Linked DNA regions of Homo sapiens: region 2 is linked to region 1. The links are contacts of gene promoters, found by promoter capture Hi-C in blood cells and fetal thymus (Javierre and others, 2016). All regions are on one chromosome and are shown on one strand. The core of a region is centred on a gene start or on the middle of the fragment in contact, and the rest is flanking DNA. Distances in the headings are between cores, read along the strand shown. Region 1 holds the start of TSFM (Ts translation elongation factor, mitochondrial). Region 2 overlaps KIF5A (kinesin family member 5A).

Region 1 (6,727 bases), core at 1,934-4,433:
TCCAAATTATATCTACTGCATGAATGAAGGTTTCTGAGATGCTAATCTGACCATCTTCACCCGTTTCTGCCCTTAAAGCTTACTGCCCTCAGTATCGAACCTGAATCTTCTTAGCATGTCATAATCACTTTCCCTTTGTCTCATGTCTTGACACTTTTCTCCCCCTTCCACATCCTCTAAGATGCAGCCTTTCCTGAATATGCCATGCTCTTTCACTCCCAGGCCTTTGTACTCACTGTTCTCTTCTTGGAAAGCTCCACCTGACTAACTCCTACTTGTCCTTTAGGGCTCAGCTGAGGTCACATTTTCTGGGAAGCTTTCCAGACCCTTAAGGCGAGCTTGTGTCAGTGGGGGTGGGTACAGAACCCATCTCCAGCTTAGTCCTGCCCAGGCTTCTGCTGACATCTGATTGTTGTGTGTTGGCCAGAGAGGTTGAAGATTAGCTCAGAGAGAATGTTGATGTTGTAGAATGTAGAGTAATGAGAATAGCAGTGGGTGAAATGGAGGTTGAGGCAACTAAAAGCCAGTGTGGGCTCTGGGCTGTCAAGACATTGTCCTCTATGCTCTGAGGTCTCTGGACCTTCCAGGCAGGAGCCAAGAACCCTTGGTTGGTTCCTCTGACTTGCATTTTTCCTCCTTCCTCTCTCTCAGGGGGGGATGTTACCATCACTGACCTGCCCCTGGCCCTAGAACAGATCCAGGGCAACGTCCAGGCCAATGTGCCAGCTGGAGGCCAGGCCCAGGTGCGTGCCTTGTCCTGGGGGATTGACCATCATGTCTTCCCTGCAAACTATGACCTGGTGCTGGGGGCTGATATCGTGTACCTGGAACCCACCTTCCCTCTGCTGCTGGGGACCCTCCAACACCTGTGCAGGCCCCATGGCACCATCTATCTGGCCTCCAAGATGAGAAAGGAGCATGGGACAGAGAGCTTCTTTCAGCACCTCCTGCCCCAGCATTTCCAACTGGAGCTGGCTCAGCGGGATGAGGATGAAAATGTCAACATCTATAGGGCCAGGCACAGGGAACCAAGACCTGCTTGACATCACCCTTGCTGTTCTTCTCAATCTCTTGCTCTAATGAAGGAACTGTGTATCTCAAAAACCATATTTCCAGAGCCACAAACATGAGGACCAAAAAGGATGGATTTCCCTGGCCTCTCTCACTTTCCTCCTTCCCTCTTTGTTACCCCAGATACTCTTGGGCAGGTGCAGTGAGGTGCCTGCTTACAAGGAATCCCAGAGTTCTGGCAGCACTAGTGTTAGAACACCAAGGAGGTTCCTGGCTCCTGTTCTCAGAGAAGGAGGATGGTAAGGTATCCAGGATTTTTAGGGGGTAAGGGAGATATATGGGATGTGAGAGCAGTGATTGTAGACAGACTGTCACTGATCACTTCCATTCCTGTTGCTGTTTACACAGAATGGACTTTAAAAAAATTCTGTGGGATTTTTTTTTCTTTTTTTCTTTTTTTTTGAGACAGGGTCTCACTCTGTCATCCAGGCTGGAGTGCAGTGGTGTGATCACAGCTCACTGCAGCCTCAACCTCTGAAGGCCCAGATGATCTTCCTGCCTCAGCTCCCCAAGTAGCTGGGACTAGAGGCATGCGCCACCACACCCGGCTAATTTTTGTATTTTCAGTAGAGACAGGGTTTCGCCATGTTGCCCAGGGTGGTCTCAAACTCCTGGGCTCAAGTGATCCACCCGCCTTGCCTCCCAAAGTGCTGGGATTGCAGGCATGGCCCACTGTGCTAGCCTAGGATTTTTTTTTTTTTTTAAGAAAGAATTAAGCCTTAAAAATCTATTGTGCAAGAACCCAACTTTTACTCAGGAGCTGAGAAGGAAGAAGCCTCAAACCACCCATTTCCTGCTTTTTAGAGATAGAGTCTAGTGGAACCATGGCTCTAACTGGGTCAAGTCCTCCTAGCTCTGAAGCTAAGGCTGCAGAGCTGTCCTTTGGACTGTATTTCTTCATGCTTTCCAGAGTTAGAGCCTTGATCACGGAACATCATTGTGTGCAGAAGAATACTGTACCTAGTACTAAGTTCTTTTCATCTTTGATTTTTCTTTAGCTTCATCAGTCCTTCCTTCCTAATCTCTAATCCCCTGAAGCCTAACACAGTTCCTAATGTGTTTTGCCTTAACCTCTTTTCTCTTCCCACATTGGTACTTCTGGTTGGGGCTCTCTTTACTTACTGCTTAGGCACATAGTCACCTTCTCTGGACTCCCTGCTTCCATGCTTTCTCCTTCAGTCCATTCCGCAAACTCTTGTGATCTTCCAAAATTAGCTCTGATTAGCTTTCACTTCCTGTAGAAGCAAGAACAAGCTCCTCTGCTTGGTACTTAGTCTGTGTCCATGTGATCCAAAATTACCTTCCTATTGCATTTCCTACTCCTTTGCTACGTGTATTGGACCTCTGGCCAAATTACAAAAGATGTACTCTTTGTTCTCTAAAACCACACTAAAGTTTTCTGACTTCTTTCACACTCTTTATGATAATCCTCTGCCTGAAAGGCTATTGCCACCTGTCAAAATCTTCATTATTCTTTGCCTCTTTCCTGAGCCTCTTGCTTGAATGTGATTTCTTTCTCCCTGAGACCCATAAGGTTCATCTTATGGGACCTTAATTTGTCTTGCATGGACATTTGTGATTCTCATTTTCTCACCATTAAATTACCTTGGAGGGTAGGGCTGTGGTTTACTCCTGTCTAAACCCCTGAAGCCTAACACAGTTCCTGGCACACAACAGGTGTTCAACAGATATTGTGCTCATTCAATAAATATTTACTCGCTTTGTTTAATGGATTCCACCCCTGCCTTCCTAGGTGACCTTGGACAAATTCTCGAACCCATTCACCAACCACACAAGTTTGTTGTGAGTCATAAATGGATAATGAATATAAATGCGCATTGAAAATAAACATAAAATGTTACCCACATTTCTTGTGTTGTTGTTTTGTGACGACTTTATTTCTTGGTTTCTGTTATTTTACCTGGGGTGGGAGGTGGGGGGTAATTCCCGTATGAAATGTGTCGTCTCAAGAAATCAAGTAGAGGCGAGGACTGTGTTCCTCCGGCCAGCAGGTGGCACCATACTCGTTTGGTGCGTTCCGCTGGAGAATTCTGGCCCTTCCGCCGCGCCGTAGGTTTGTTGCCTCACCAGTGCGCCCGCCGGAGGGTGTTTATCGCGGCTAGAGAGATGTCGCTGCTGCGGTCGCTGCGCGTGTTTCTGGTCGCGCGGACCGGGAGCTACCCGGTGAGAAGTCCTGGTGCTGGTACCGACCTGCTGTCCCTGCAGCTCTCCTGTGCGCCTGTACCTTTCCCTTCCTCCCAACCTCGTTTGACTCCATCTCACCTTCCCCGACAGCATTGCCTCTGCCCAGTCCAGCCCCGGTGCACCCCCCTTTGCACACTGTCCGCTCCCTAAGGTCGCTTCCCTGCCCGTGTACCCTTCACCCTCTGGAGTTTGCTGCTTCCTGCTCCTCATCCCTTTCTTATCTCATCTAGGCTGGGTCTCTTCTGCGTCAGTCGCCCCAGCCAAGGCACACATTTTATGCTGGGCCCCGTCTGTCTGCCTCGGCCTCCAGCAAGGAGCTCCTCATGAAGCTGCGGCGGAAAACAGGCTACTCCTTTGTAAATTGCAAGAAAGCTCTGGAGACTTGTGGCGGGGACCTCAAACAGGTGTGTGTGTGGAGGGGTGCAGGGCGGAGTACTAGAGCTCGACCTCAGACTCTTGGGGCGGTCACGCTGGGGAGCATAAAGTTAGACTGCTCTTCAGTGACCATAATGGCACAGTCCTAAGTGGAAATCTGGCTTAAATGACAACCTTGGCCTTGACTTTGTCTTATTTGAAAGCAGTTGAGTATCCCAGGATTAACAAACCAGACTGTTACGGTGTTTCTTGTTGCCTGGAGCTGAAAGGGTTTGTGTGAGCTTTGGAGTCAGATTGTTCAGGAGTCAAATTGTGGGGCCCCCACACTGTCTGACTTTAGACTTTTTTTTTTTTTTTCAGACGGAGTCTTGCTCTGTGGCCCAGGCCGGCGTGCAATGGCACGATGTTGGCTCACTGCAACCTCCGCCTCCCGGGTTCAAGCGATTCTCCTGCCTCAGCCTCCTGAGTAGTTGGGATTACAGGCGTGCGCCACGACACCCGGCTATTTTATTTTTTATTTTTTATTTTTTTTTGTATTTTTAGTAGAGATGGGGTTTCGCCGTGTCGGCCAGGCTGGTCTCGAACTCCTGGCCTCAGGTGATCCGCCCGCCTCGGCTTCCCAGAGTGGTGGGATTACAGGAGTGAGCCACCGCGCCCGGCTGACTTTAGACATCTTAATCTTTCAGAGTTGTGTAGTTTTTGCCTGTACGGTCATGCGTCTCTTAATAGGAAGATACATTCTGAGAAATGGCGTCGTTAGGAGATTTTGGCTTATGCACATCATAGAGTACCTACACAAACCTAGATGGTATATTGTACTACAACCTGGGCTATATGGAATTGCCAGCTGCTCCTAGGCTACAAACCGTTACAAAATGTTACTGGACTGAATACTGTAGGCAGTTGTAACACAGTGGTAAGTATTGTGTATCTAAACATAGAAAAAGTACAGTAAATAGGCATAAAAGATAAAAAACGATACATCTCCATAGGGAACTTATCATGTATGGAGCTTGCAGGACTGGAAGTTGCTCTGGGTGAGTCAGTGAGTGGTGAGTGAATATGAAGGCCTGCCTTAGGACACTATGGTGCACTATAGTAGACGTTAAAGCACAGTACACATAAGCTACATTACATTTATAAGAAATTTTTTTCTGTGATAATAAGTTAACCTTAGTTTAATGTAACATTTTTATTTTATAAACTTTTAACATGTTTTAAATTTTTGGACTCTTTTGTAATAACAGCATAAAACACATATTGTACAGCTGTACCAAAATATTTTTCTTTATGCACTTTTTCTGTGAGCTTTTTTCTGTTTTTAAAATTTTAAACTTTTTTTGGCTGGGCGTGGTGGCTCATGCCTGTAATCTCAGAACTTTGGGAGGCTGAGGCAAGCGGATCACCTGAGGTTGCGAGTTCGAGACTAGCCTGACCCACACGGAGAAACCTCGTCTCTACTAAAAAAAAATAAAATTAGCCTGGTGTGGTGGCAAGGGCCTGTAATCCCAGCTACTCGGGAGGCTGAGGTAGGATAATCTCTTGAACCCAAAAGGCGGAGGTTGTGGTGAGCCGAGATCGTGCCATTGCACTCCAGCCTGGGCAATAAGAGTGAAACTCTGTCTCAAAAAAAAAAACAACAACTTTTTTTATTGAAATATCTTTTTTTTTTTTTTTTTTTTTTTTTTTTGAGACAGAGTCTTACTCTGTCCCCCAGGCTGGACTGCAGTGGCACAATCTTGGCTCACTGCAAGCTCCACCTCCCAGGTTCACACCATTCTCCTGCCTCAGCCTCCTGAGTAGCTGGGACTACAGGCGCCCGCCACCACGCCCGGCTAATTTTTTGTATTTTTAGTAGAGACAGGGTTTCACCGTGTTAGCCAGGATGGTCTCGATCTCCTGACCTTGTGATCCGCCCACCTCAGCCTCCCAAAGTGTCGGGATTACAGGCGTGAGCCACAGCGCCTGGCCAAAACTTTTTTTAAGTTAAAAAATTGTTTTGTTAAAAACGGAGACACAAACACATACATTAGCCTAGGCCTACACAGGAGTGGCATCATCATTAACACTGTGTTCCACTTTCACATCTTGTCCTGCTGGAAGGTCTTCAGGGGCAGTAACGGGCATGGACCTGTCATCTCCTATGATAACAATGTTTTTTTCTGGAATACCTCTTGAAGGACCTGCCTGAAGCTGTTTTACTGTTAAATTTTTTTATTTTTTATTTTTTTGAGACGGAGTCTCACTTTGTCACCCAGGCTGGAGTGCAGTGGCGCGATAGATCTTGGTTCACTGCAACCTCCGCCTCCCGGGTTCAAGAAATTCAGCCACCCGAGTAGTTTATAAGTTGGAGTACACTCTAAAATAACAATAAAGCATATGTATTATAGTAAATACATAAGCCAGTAACATAGTTGTTCATTATTGTTTCAAGTATCATGTACTATATGTAATTGTATGTGCTATACTTTAATAGGACTGGCAGCACAGACGTTTTCTTTACACTAGCATTGCCACAAACATGTAGGTAATATGTTGCCCTACAATGTTAGGAGGACTACCGTGTCACTAGACAATAGGAATTTTTCAGCTCCATTATAATCTTAGGGACCGTCATCATATATGCAGTCCGTCATTGTCCAAAATATCGTTATGTGGTGCGTAACTGTATAAAGAAAATACAACTGTGTGCCCCATAGGGTTGTTGTGAAGATTAGATTCATCCAAGGCACCAGTTATAATAATACCTGGTATTTGGCATTTAGTGGTAGACTGCCAGTAAATGATAGATTACTTTAGTTTCTGTTAGAGAATTTAGAGAATCAGGAAACCTGAGTATATCTTAGAACTACATTTAGTGCTAAATTCTGTGACTTTGTTGTCTGCTCTTTTTCCTCTCAATTTACAGGCAGAGATCTGGCTCCACAAGGAGGCCCAGAAGGAGGGCTGGAGCAAAGCTGCCAAGCTCCAAGGGAGGAAGACCAAAGAAGGCCTGATTGGGCTGTTGCAGGAAGGAAACACAACTGTATTAGTAGAGGTGAGTTGTTGGAAATTCCAGATACCAAGAACAGCTGTC
Region 2 (6,558 bases), core at 2,879-5,378, 200 kb before region 1:
CACTCAAAGCATTAGCTTGAAATCATGGATGCCAACTCATATGTTAGCCAAGGTTTTGCATGTAGCTCATTTTACATTAACCATACACCCTTGTTCTCTGTTCCTGCTATATCAAATTGGACAGTCCTAACACAGAAGAACATCCCTGTGGGTCCATTCCCAGCCCTGCCTGGAGTTCTGGTCACAACGTGAAGTTCTTTCCGAAAGAGGTAGGTTTGATGTCAGCTGTCTTCCCCTCTTTCCCTTAGAAACTGTGCATGAAGTGGCCCTGAAGGACAAGGAGCCTGACACTCAGGATGCAGATGAAGTGAAGGTGAGTAAGGAAGGTGTCAGGGACAATTGGGGCCTGGTGTGGTGAAAGCTGTGCTGGCCCTCACAGAGCTTGTTGCTGGGAGTCTGGCCTTTGAGCTTGGGGTGGGGTTGTTTGCAGAAGGCTCTGGAGCTGCAGATGGAGAGTCACCGGGAGGCCCATCACCGGCAGCTGGCCCGGCTCCGGGACGAGATCAACGAGAAGCAGAAGACCATTGATGAGCTCAAAGAGTAAGGGTTCCCAAGGGCGACTCCAGCCCCTCCCGGGTCCTGTCACCTTGCTGTATTGACTCACATGTCCCCTCTGGGTCTGATTCTTTAACATCCATGTGTCATTCCCTCAACAATGCCACAACTTCGTAGCCCCACCTCAGGAGACACATGGAATAACGACTAGTCCCTATCCTTGAGGGTCCCAGGATTAGAGAGGTCAGGGTTCCTGGCTCTGTCATGGAAACAGTGGCCTGAGTCTGCCTCTGGTATCTGAAGGTGGACACATCAATTCTAACTGGACTCACTCGTTCAAAAAGGAAGAAGTTTGAAGAGCTGGCCTTCCCTTCCCCCTCATTAACATCTTTCTCCCCCATCTCCATTACCTTCTGATGCTCTGTAGCCTAAATCAGAAGCTCCAGTTAGAGCTAGAGAAGCTTCAGGCTGACTACGAGAAGCTGAAGAGCGAAGAACACGAGAAGAGCACCAAGCTGCAGGAGCTGACGTGAGTGGCATGGATTTACCTGTAAAACTACAGCCTTGTAGGCTCAGAACTGTGAACTCAGACACGCTTGCAGAGGCAGGACACACATGCAGACATGATAGGGTGACTCATGGGAAAAATATGATGGGGTAGGGACGGGACCAAAAGGACACTCTCAGCAAAGACTGCCGTTGAGTATTCACCAGTATGGAAGGAGGTTTACGTGTTCTATTCAGTGTAAAAACAGGTTACAAAACCATATGCATGGTATGATCCCATAAAAATGTATACATGGATATGTAGGCATAGAAAAAAGTCTAGAAAGGTGGACACCAGAAGGTTAATGTTGGTTTGATCTGTAAATAGTAGAATCATAGGCTTTTTATAAAAACTCACCTTATGTCTCTCTTTAAAATTCTTTTCTAATTTTTGCACAGTAAACATGAGTAACTTGTGTAATAAATAATAATAGGCTGGGTGCGATGGCTTACACCTATAATCTCAGCACTTTGGGAGGCCAAAGCAGGTGGACTGCTTGAGCTCAGTAGTTCGAGACCAGCCTGGGCAACATGGCAAAACCCTGTCTCTACTAAAAATACAAAAATTAGCTGGGCATGGTGGCATACGTCTGTGGTCCCAGATGCTTGGGAGGCTGAGGTGGGAAGGATCCCTTGAGCCCAGGAGGTTGAGGCTGCAGTGAGCCCTGATTGTGCCACTGTACTCTATCTAGCCTAGGTAACAGAATGAGACCCTGTTTCACAAAATAACAATAATAGTAATACTTAAATGGAGATAAAAGTAATAGAGGAAGAGGCAGGAGGAAGGAGAGTCCTGAGGGATCTTTCCATTTCCCTTATTTCTCTTGCTACAGATTTCTGTACGAGCGACATGAGCAGTCCAAGCAGGACCTCAAGGGTCTGGAGGAGACAGTTGTGAGTGGTTCCCTTCTGTGCCAAATTCACAGGACTGGGGAGTGGGGAGGCTTCATTTCTTCCTAACCCTATTCCTCCTGCCCTTTTGCAGCCATTCTGTAGCGTAATCAAGACACATTTTTTCCTAAAGGATAAGTGACTCACTTGATTATAGAGACTGGAGGTACCTATAATTCTGGAGGAATAGGACAGACCTGGTATCTGGCTATTCCCAATTTTTCATCATTCTTTCCAGGCCCGGGAACTCCAGACCCTCCACAACCTTCGCAAGCTGTTCGTTCAAGACGTCACGACTCGAGTCAAGAAAGTGAGTGCTGTCCTTGGGGTTTTGTCAGCCCCCACATCCTCCTCCTATCCTTAGGTTTCTCCTGCCCCTGTTGCCCCTATGGGGCTGGCTTGGCCTGGTCTTGGTGGGACCTGTTTGGCCTCAGGACAGCCACGTCTTTCCTTCTATCTGTTCTCAGAGTGCAGAAATGGAGCCCGAAGACAGTGGGGGGATTCACTCCCAAAAGCAGAAGATTTCCTTTCTTGAGAACAACCTGGAACAGCTTACAAAGGTTCACAAACAGGTAAGAGTCTGCTGAAGGAGTGAAGAGAATTTTTGAGGCCGGGTAGCTAGCATACCAAATCCTCAGAGGCCCCTTGGATTCAGGAAAATCTAGTTGCATGTTTTCCTTACTGTTCGCTTTTACTTTCCCTACTAATCCCTTCTTTATACCATATTTGGTCCACTTGTACCTTGTTCTTTGTTTCATGCCTGTATTCCCTTCTCAAAGTTTCTAACCCACCTCTGCTCAAAGTGGAATTCCCCAGGCCTACCTTGGAGGGAGAGGTTGAAACTAACAGAGGCATGGGCTGTAACTATACAGGAGGGAGACTGGTCAGACGTTACCCAGAGATGGAAGGCAGGGAGATGAGAAGAAGCAAGGGAGTTGGGCTTCTTTCGTGGAGAGAACTCCATCTGTCTAGGTCTGTGGCAGGCATGCAGGGACATTAAATGATGTCCCTGGCTAGGCACAGTGGTGCATGCCTGTAGTCCCAGCGCTTCAGGAAGCCGAGGCGGGCGGATCACTTGAGCACAGGAGTTCAAGACCAGCCTAAGCAACATGGCGAAACCCCATCTCTACAAAAAATACAAAAATTAGCCGGATGTGGTGGCACACACCCATAGTCCCAGCTACTTGGGAGGCTGAGGTAGGGCAATTGCTTGAGCGCAGGAAGTAGAGGCTGCAGTGAGCTGTGATCATGCCACTGCACTCCAGCCTAGGTGACAGAGTGAGACCCTGTTTCAATTAAAAAAAAATGATGTCCCTAAGATGGCCCAACCAGCCCCTGGTTGGGGCCCCAGTCAAAACTCCTGTGTATTAAGTTGCTGCCTCTCTGTCCCCCTCCTTGCTGTTGCGGTTCTTTAGGTGGATGACTGGGTTTCAAAGGTATGGGCTGGGGATGCAGAAGGGCAGTCCAAAGGAGTCAGGACAGGAAATGTTTGGTGCATGCTGGGTAGGGGCACTCTCACTAGCACTAAATATCTGAGCCTTGAAGACAGGCTCGGCAGGCTGTCAACTGGTCCTTTTAACTAATTCATAAAATAAACCCTAACCTATACTTCATTCCTTTCCTTTCAAATCTACCTTAAGATTCCATTTAAACTTACATTCTCACTAGCCTAGCACTTAAACTTCTTTTCCTCCCAGTATAATGCCCAGCTTATATAGTAAATATTCAGTACTTTTTTTTTTCTTAATGAATCCTAAACCTGTGCCCAGTGATAATGTACAGAGTTTATTTATCTTATTTAGGCCTGCAGAGGGCTTTGCTACGATTTTATTTCCTTTATTATGAAACTGAGTAACAAAATTATAGAAAAGTTGAAAGGCAGATAGGAAACATTTGAAATCAATTCTGCCATTCGATTTTCATTCCCGCATTCACTTTCCCTCTCTGTCCAAATCCATATTATGTTGCTTAGAACACACACACACATGTGTGTGCTACTCTGGGCCTCTCTGCCTATGGGAAAGCCCTGCTCTATGGAGCAAGCCCCAGAAAAATTTCCATGAAAAAACACAACCACACACTGTTTCCTTTATCGTCACTGAAGCCTCTGCCTCTGTTCAAAGTCCCAAAAAAACAAAAATGACTCACCTATAGGATAAATAGAGGACTCACTACAATTTCCTACCTCAGCAGACACAAGAGTAAAAAGGAAAAGGAGATAAAAACTTCTCAGTTAAGAGAATCTTAACAGCCAGGACTATAGCCCTATATCAATTAAGCTAAAGTATTGTCACAGCAAAACATTGCTTATACTCCATAAATTGTCCAAATGGAAACTGCATGGAAGGGTTTCTAGCTTGTCCCCTTGAGCCCCCAGTGTTCCCCGCTATGCTGATTTACCCGCTGTCTTCCAAGGCCCTGCTCCTTTTGCAACCTATAGTGCCCCCAGTCATTGTGTGGAACCTGTAAAAAGATCAGGAAGTCTTTTCGGGCTGCAGGGTGGTTGCTCCCATGCTCTAGCTTAATTTCACTGGGGGAGGGATAACCCAGGAAGTCCTTGAATGTGAAGGTAATGAGTGCAAATGTTTGTGAGACCTCAAACATTTTCTTTCCTTCCTACGGGGCGGGCTCTGCCTGTCTATATGTGTATGTCAGGGGCTCCTGAATTCCAGCTTCTGCTCCTGCTCTGCACTGCACCTGCCATGCACAGATTCTCCTCAATGCCACAGCCACCAAACTGCTACTGTGCCCTTGCTGCCCCACCCTTTGCATGCCCACAAAGCCCTCTCTGGGGAAGCGGGTCCCTCATCCCCATGGCCGCCCTGGGGCTATTGATCTGGCACATGCTGGGAGATGTGGGGGAAACCAGATGGAGACAGGACAAGGCGCTCTCACAAGAGTTCTGGGCTGCAGTGGAGATGGCAGGTTTTACTGCCTAGAAAATTATATAACTTTTAAATGCCTGACCACCCACCCTTCGCTCTGGGAGAAGGAATGAGCTGGACAGAACAGTCCATTACATAAAGGCAATGAGGCCTTTTGAGGAAATGACATGGTCTCCATCTTCTCTGACTCCTGATTTTTCTTTATTCTCTCTCCTCACCCCTGTCCCCTACGCTCCTCTGGGTGACCGTCTTGGGTCACTTGCCTTCCTTTCCACTTCTTCCCTTTGGCTTGCCCCATAGCTGGTACGTGACAATGCAGATCTGCGTTGTGAGCTTCCTAAATTGGAAAAACGACTTAGGGCTACGGCTGAGAGAGTTAAGGCCCTGGAGGGTGCACTGAAGGAGGCCAAGGAGGGCGCCATGAAGGACAAGCGCCGGTACCAGCAGGAGGTGGACCGCATCAAGGAGGCCGTTCGCTACAAGAGCTCGGGCAAACGGGGCCATTCTGCCCAGATTGGTGAGTAGGTGTTAGCAGGCAAGGTGGGAGTATCTCCTGAAGCAAATTTAGCAAATTGCTAATTGCCAAGCAACTAGATTATTGCTTCTTACCTACCCCTAGCCTCATCCCACTTCCCCCCAAAAAGTAAAAAAGTGATTATGTTACAAGCAACTCAGTTCAACCCCAGCTAAATGACCTCAGGGACCAGGGCAAATGCAGGGTCATAGCCTCCTCATGGTTGTTTTCTTTCTTTATTGCAGCCAAACCCGTCCGGCCTGGCCACTACCCAGCATCCTCACCCACCAACCCCTATGGCACCCGGAGCCCTGAGTGCATCAGTTACACCAACAGCCTCTTCCAGAACTACCAGAATCTCTACCTGCAGGCCACACCCAGCTCCACCTCAGATATGTAGTGAGTGACCACACGTGTGGGTTGGAGTCCCACCCAAAGCTCCCTGGACCCTAGAAGGCATAGGGTGGGGGCAGTTATTGGTTGTGGCTTAATTATTTTCCTAAACCCTTTCTCAACTTCATGCCTATGATTAGAAGGTAGGTGTCTGCCCTCCCAGCCTGTGGCCATGTTTGTTTTCCTCTGCTCTCTGGGGATGGGGAGGGCTGAGCAGCTCTATCACTGAGGATGAGTGTGGATTAGTGGTCCTCAGACTAGTGGAGGGTGGGTGTCAGAGGCTGCCTCTTTCCTCTGCTCCATCCAGCTTTGCAAACTCCTGTACCAGCAGTGGAGCCACATCTTCTGGCGGCCCCTTGGCTTCCTACCAGAAGGCCAACATGGACAATGGTGAGTGAAAAAGATGGGTAATCCCACCTTTGGGGTCCTCAGGGCAAGTTGAGAGGCATAAAAGTAAGTGACCTTAGTGTACAAAAAACACTGACTGAACCTTTCTGGTGTGCCAAGGCTTCAAATAAAAAAAAAAATACATATAGCCAGGTGTGGTGGCATGCACCTGTAGTCCTAGCTACTTGGGAGGTTGAGATAGGAGGATTGCTTGAGCTCAGGAGCTTAAGGCTGAAGTGCACTGTGAATACACCTGTGAATAGCCACTGCACTCAGCCTGGGCAGCATAGTAAAGCCCCATCTCTAAAATAATAATAATAACACATATGAAGAAAAAAGTGACCCTGTACCTACAGCCTGAGCACTGCCCAGCCCTTTAGGTCTCAGGCTGCCTGGGAGTGGATTCCTCCTATTACCACGCCAATCCCAGCCCTTGCCTTCCAGTTC

The links. Contacts are between HindIII fragments. The CHiCAGO score rates a contact against its expected background, and 5 or more counts as called.
Region 2: a contact is called between a fragment that was not itself captured here and the fragment with the promoter of TSFM in region 1, in 3 of 17 cell types (naive B cells, total B cells and naive CD4 T cells). The highest score is 6.6, in naive B cells.

Annotation. Positions count from the first base shown.
Region 1 is chr12:57,779,604-57,786,330 of GRCh38, forward strand. It overlaps TSFM (Ts translation elongation factor, mitochondrial), which reads left to right and starts at 3,184. Exons shown (of 6, transcript NM_005726.6): 1 at 3,184-3,255; 2 at 3,507-3,680; 3 at 6,560-6,688. The coding sequence starts at 3,199. EEF1AKMT3 (EEF1A lysine methyltransferase 3) reads left to right here. Exons shown (of 3, transcript NM_015433.3): 3 at 652-2,938. The coding sequence ends at 1,043. RefSeq lists enhancers at 2,945-3,814, 3,168-3,237. The HindIII fragment of the contact is 6,425 bases long and covers 315-6,727 here.
Region 2 is chr12:57,575,839-57,582,396 of GRCh38, forward strand. It overlaps KIF5A (kinesin family member 5A), which reads left to right. Exons shown (of 29, transcript NM_004984.4): 18 at 249-313; 19 at 431-540; 20 at 923-1,024; 21 at 1,875-1,935; 22 at 2,171-2,242; 23 at 2,400-2,504; 24 at 5,118-5,334; 25 at 5,577-5,730; 26 at 6,032-6,114. Among named protein-coding and RNA genes, the nearest start is that of PIP4K2C, 12 kb to the right of the region's middle. The HindIII fragment of the contact is 6,349 bases long and covers 955-6,558 here.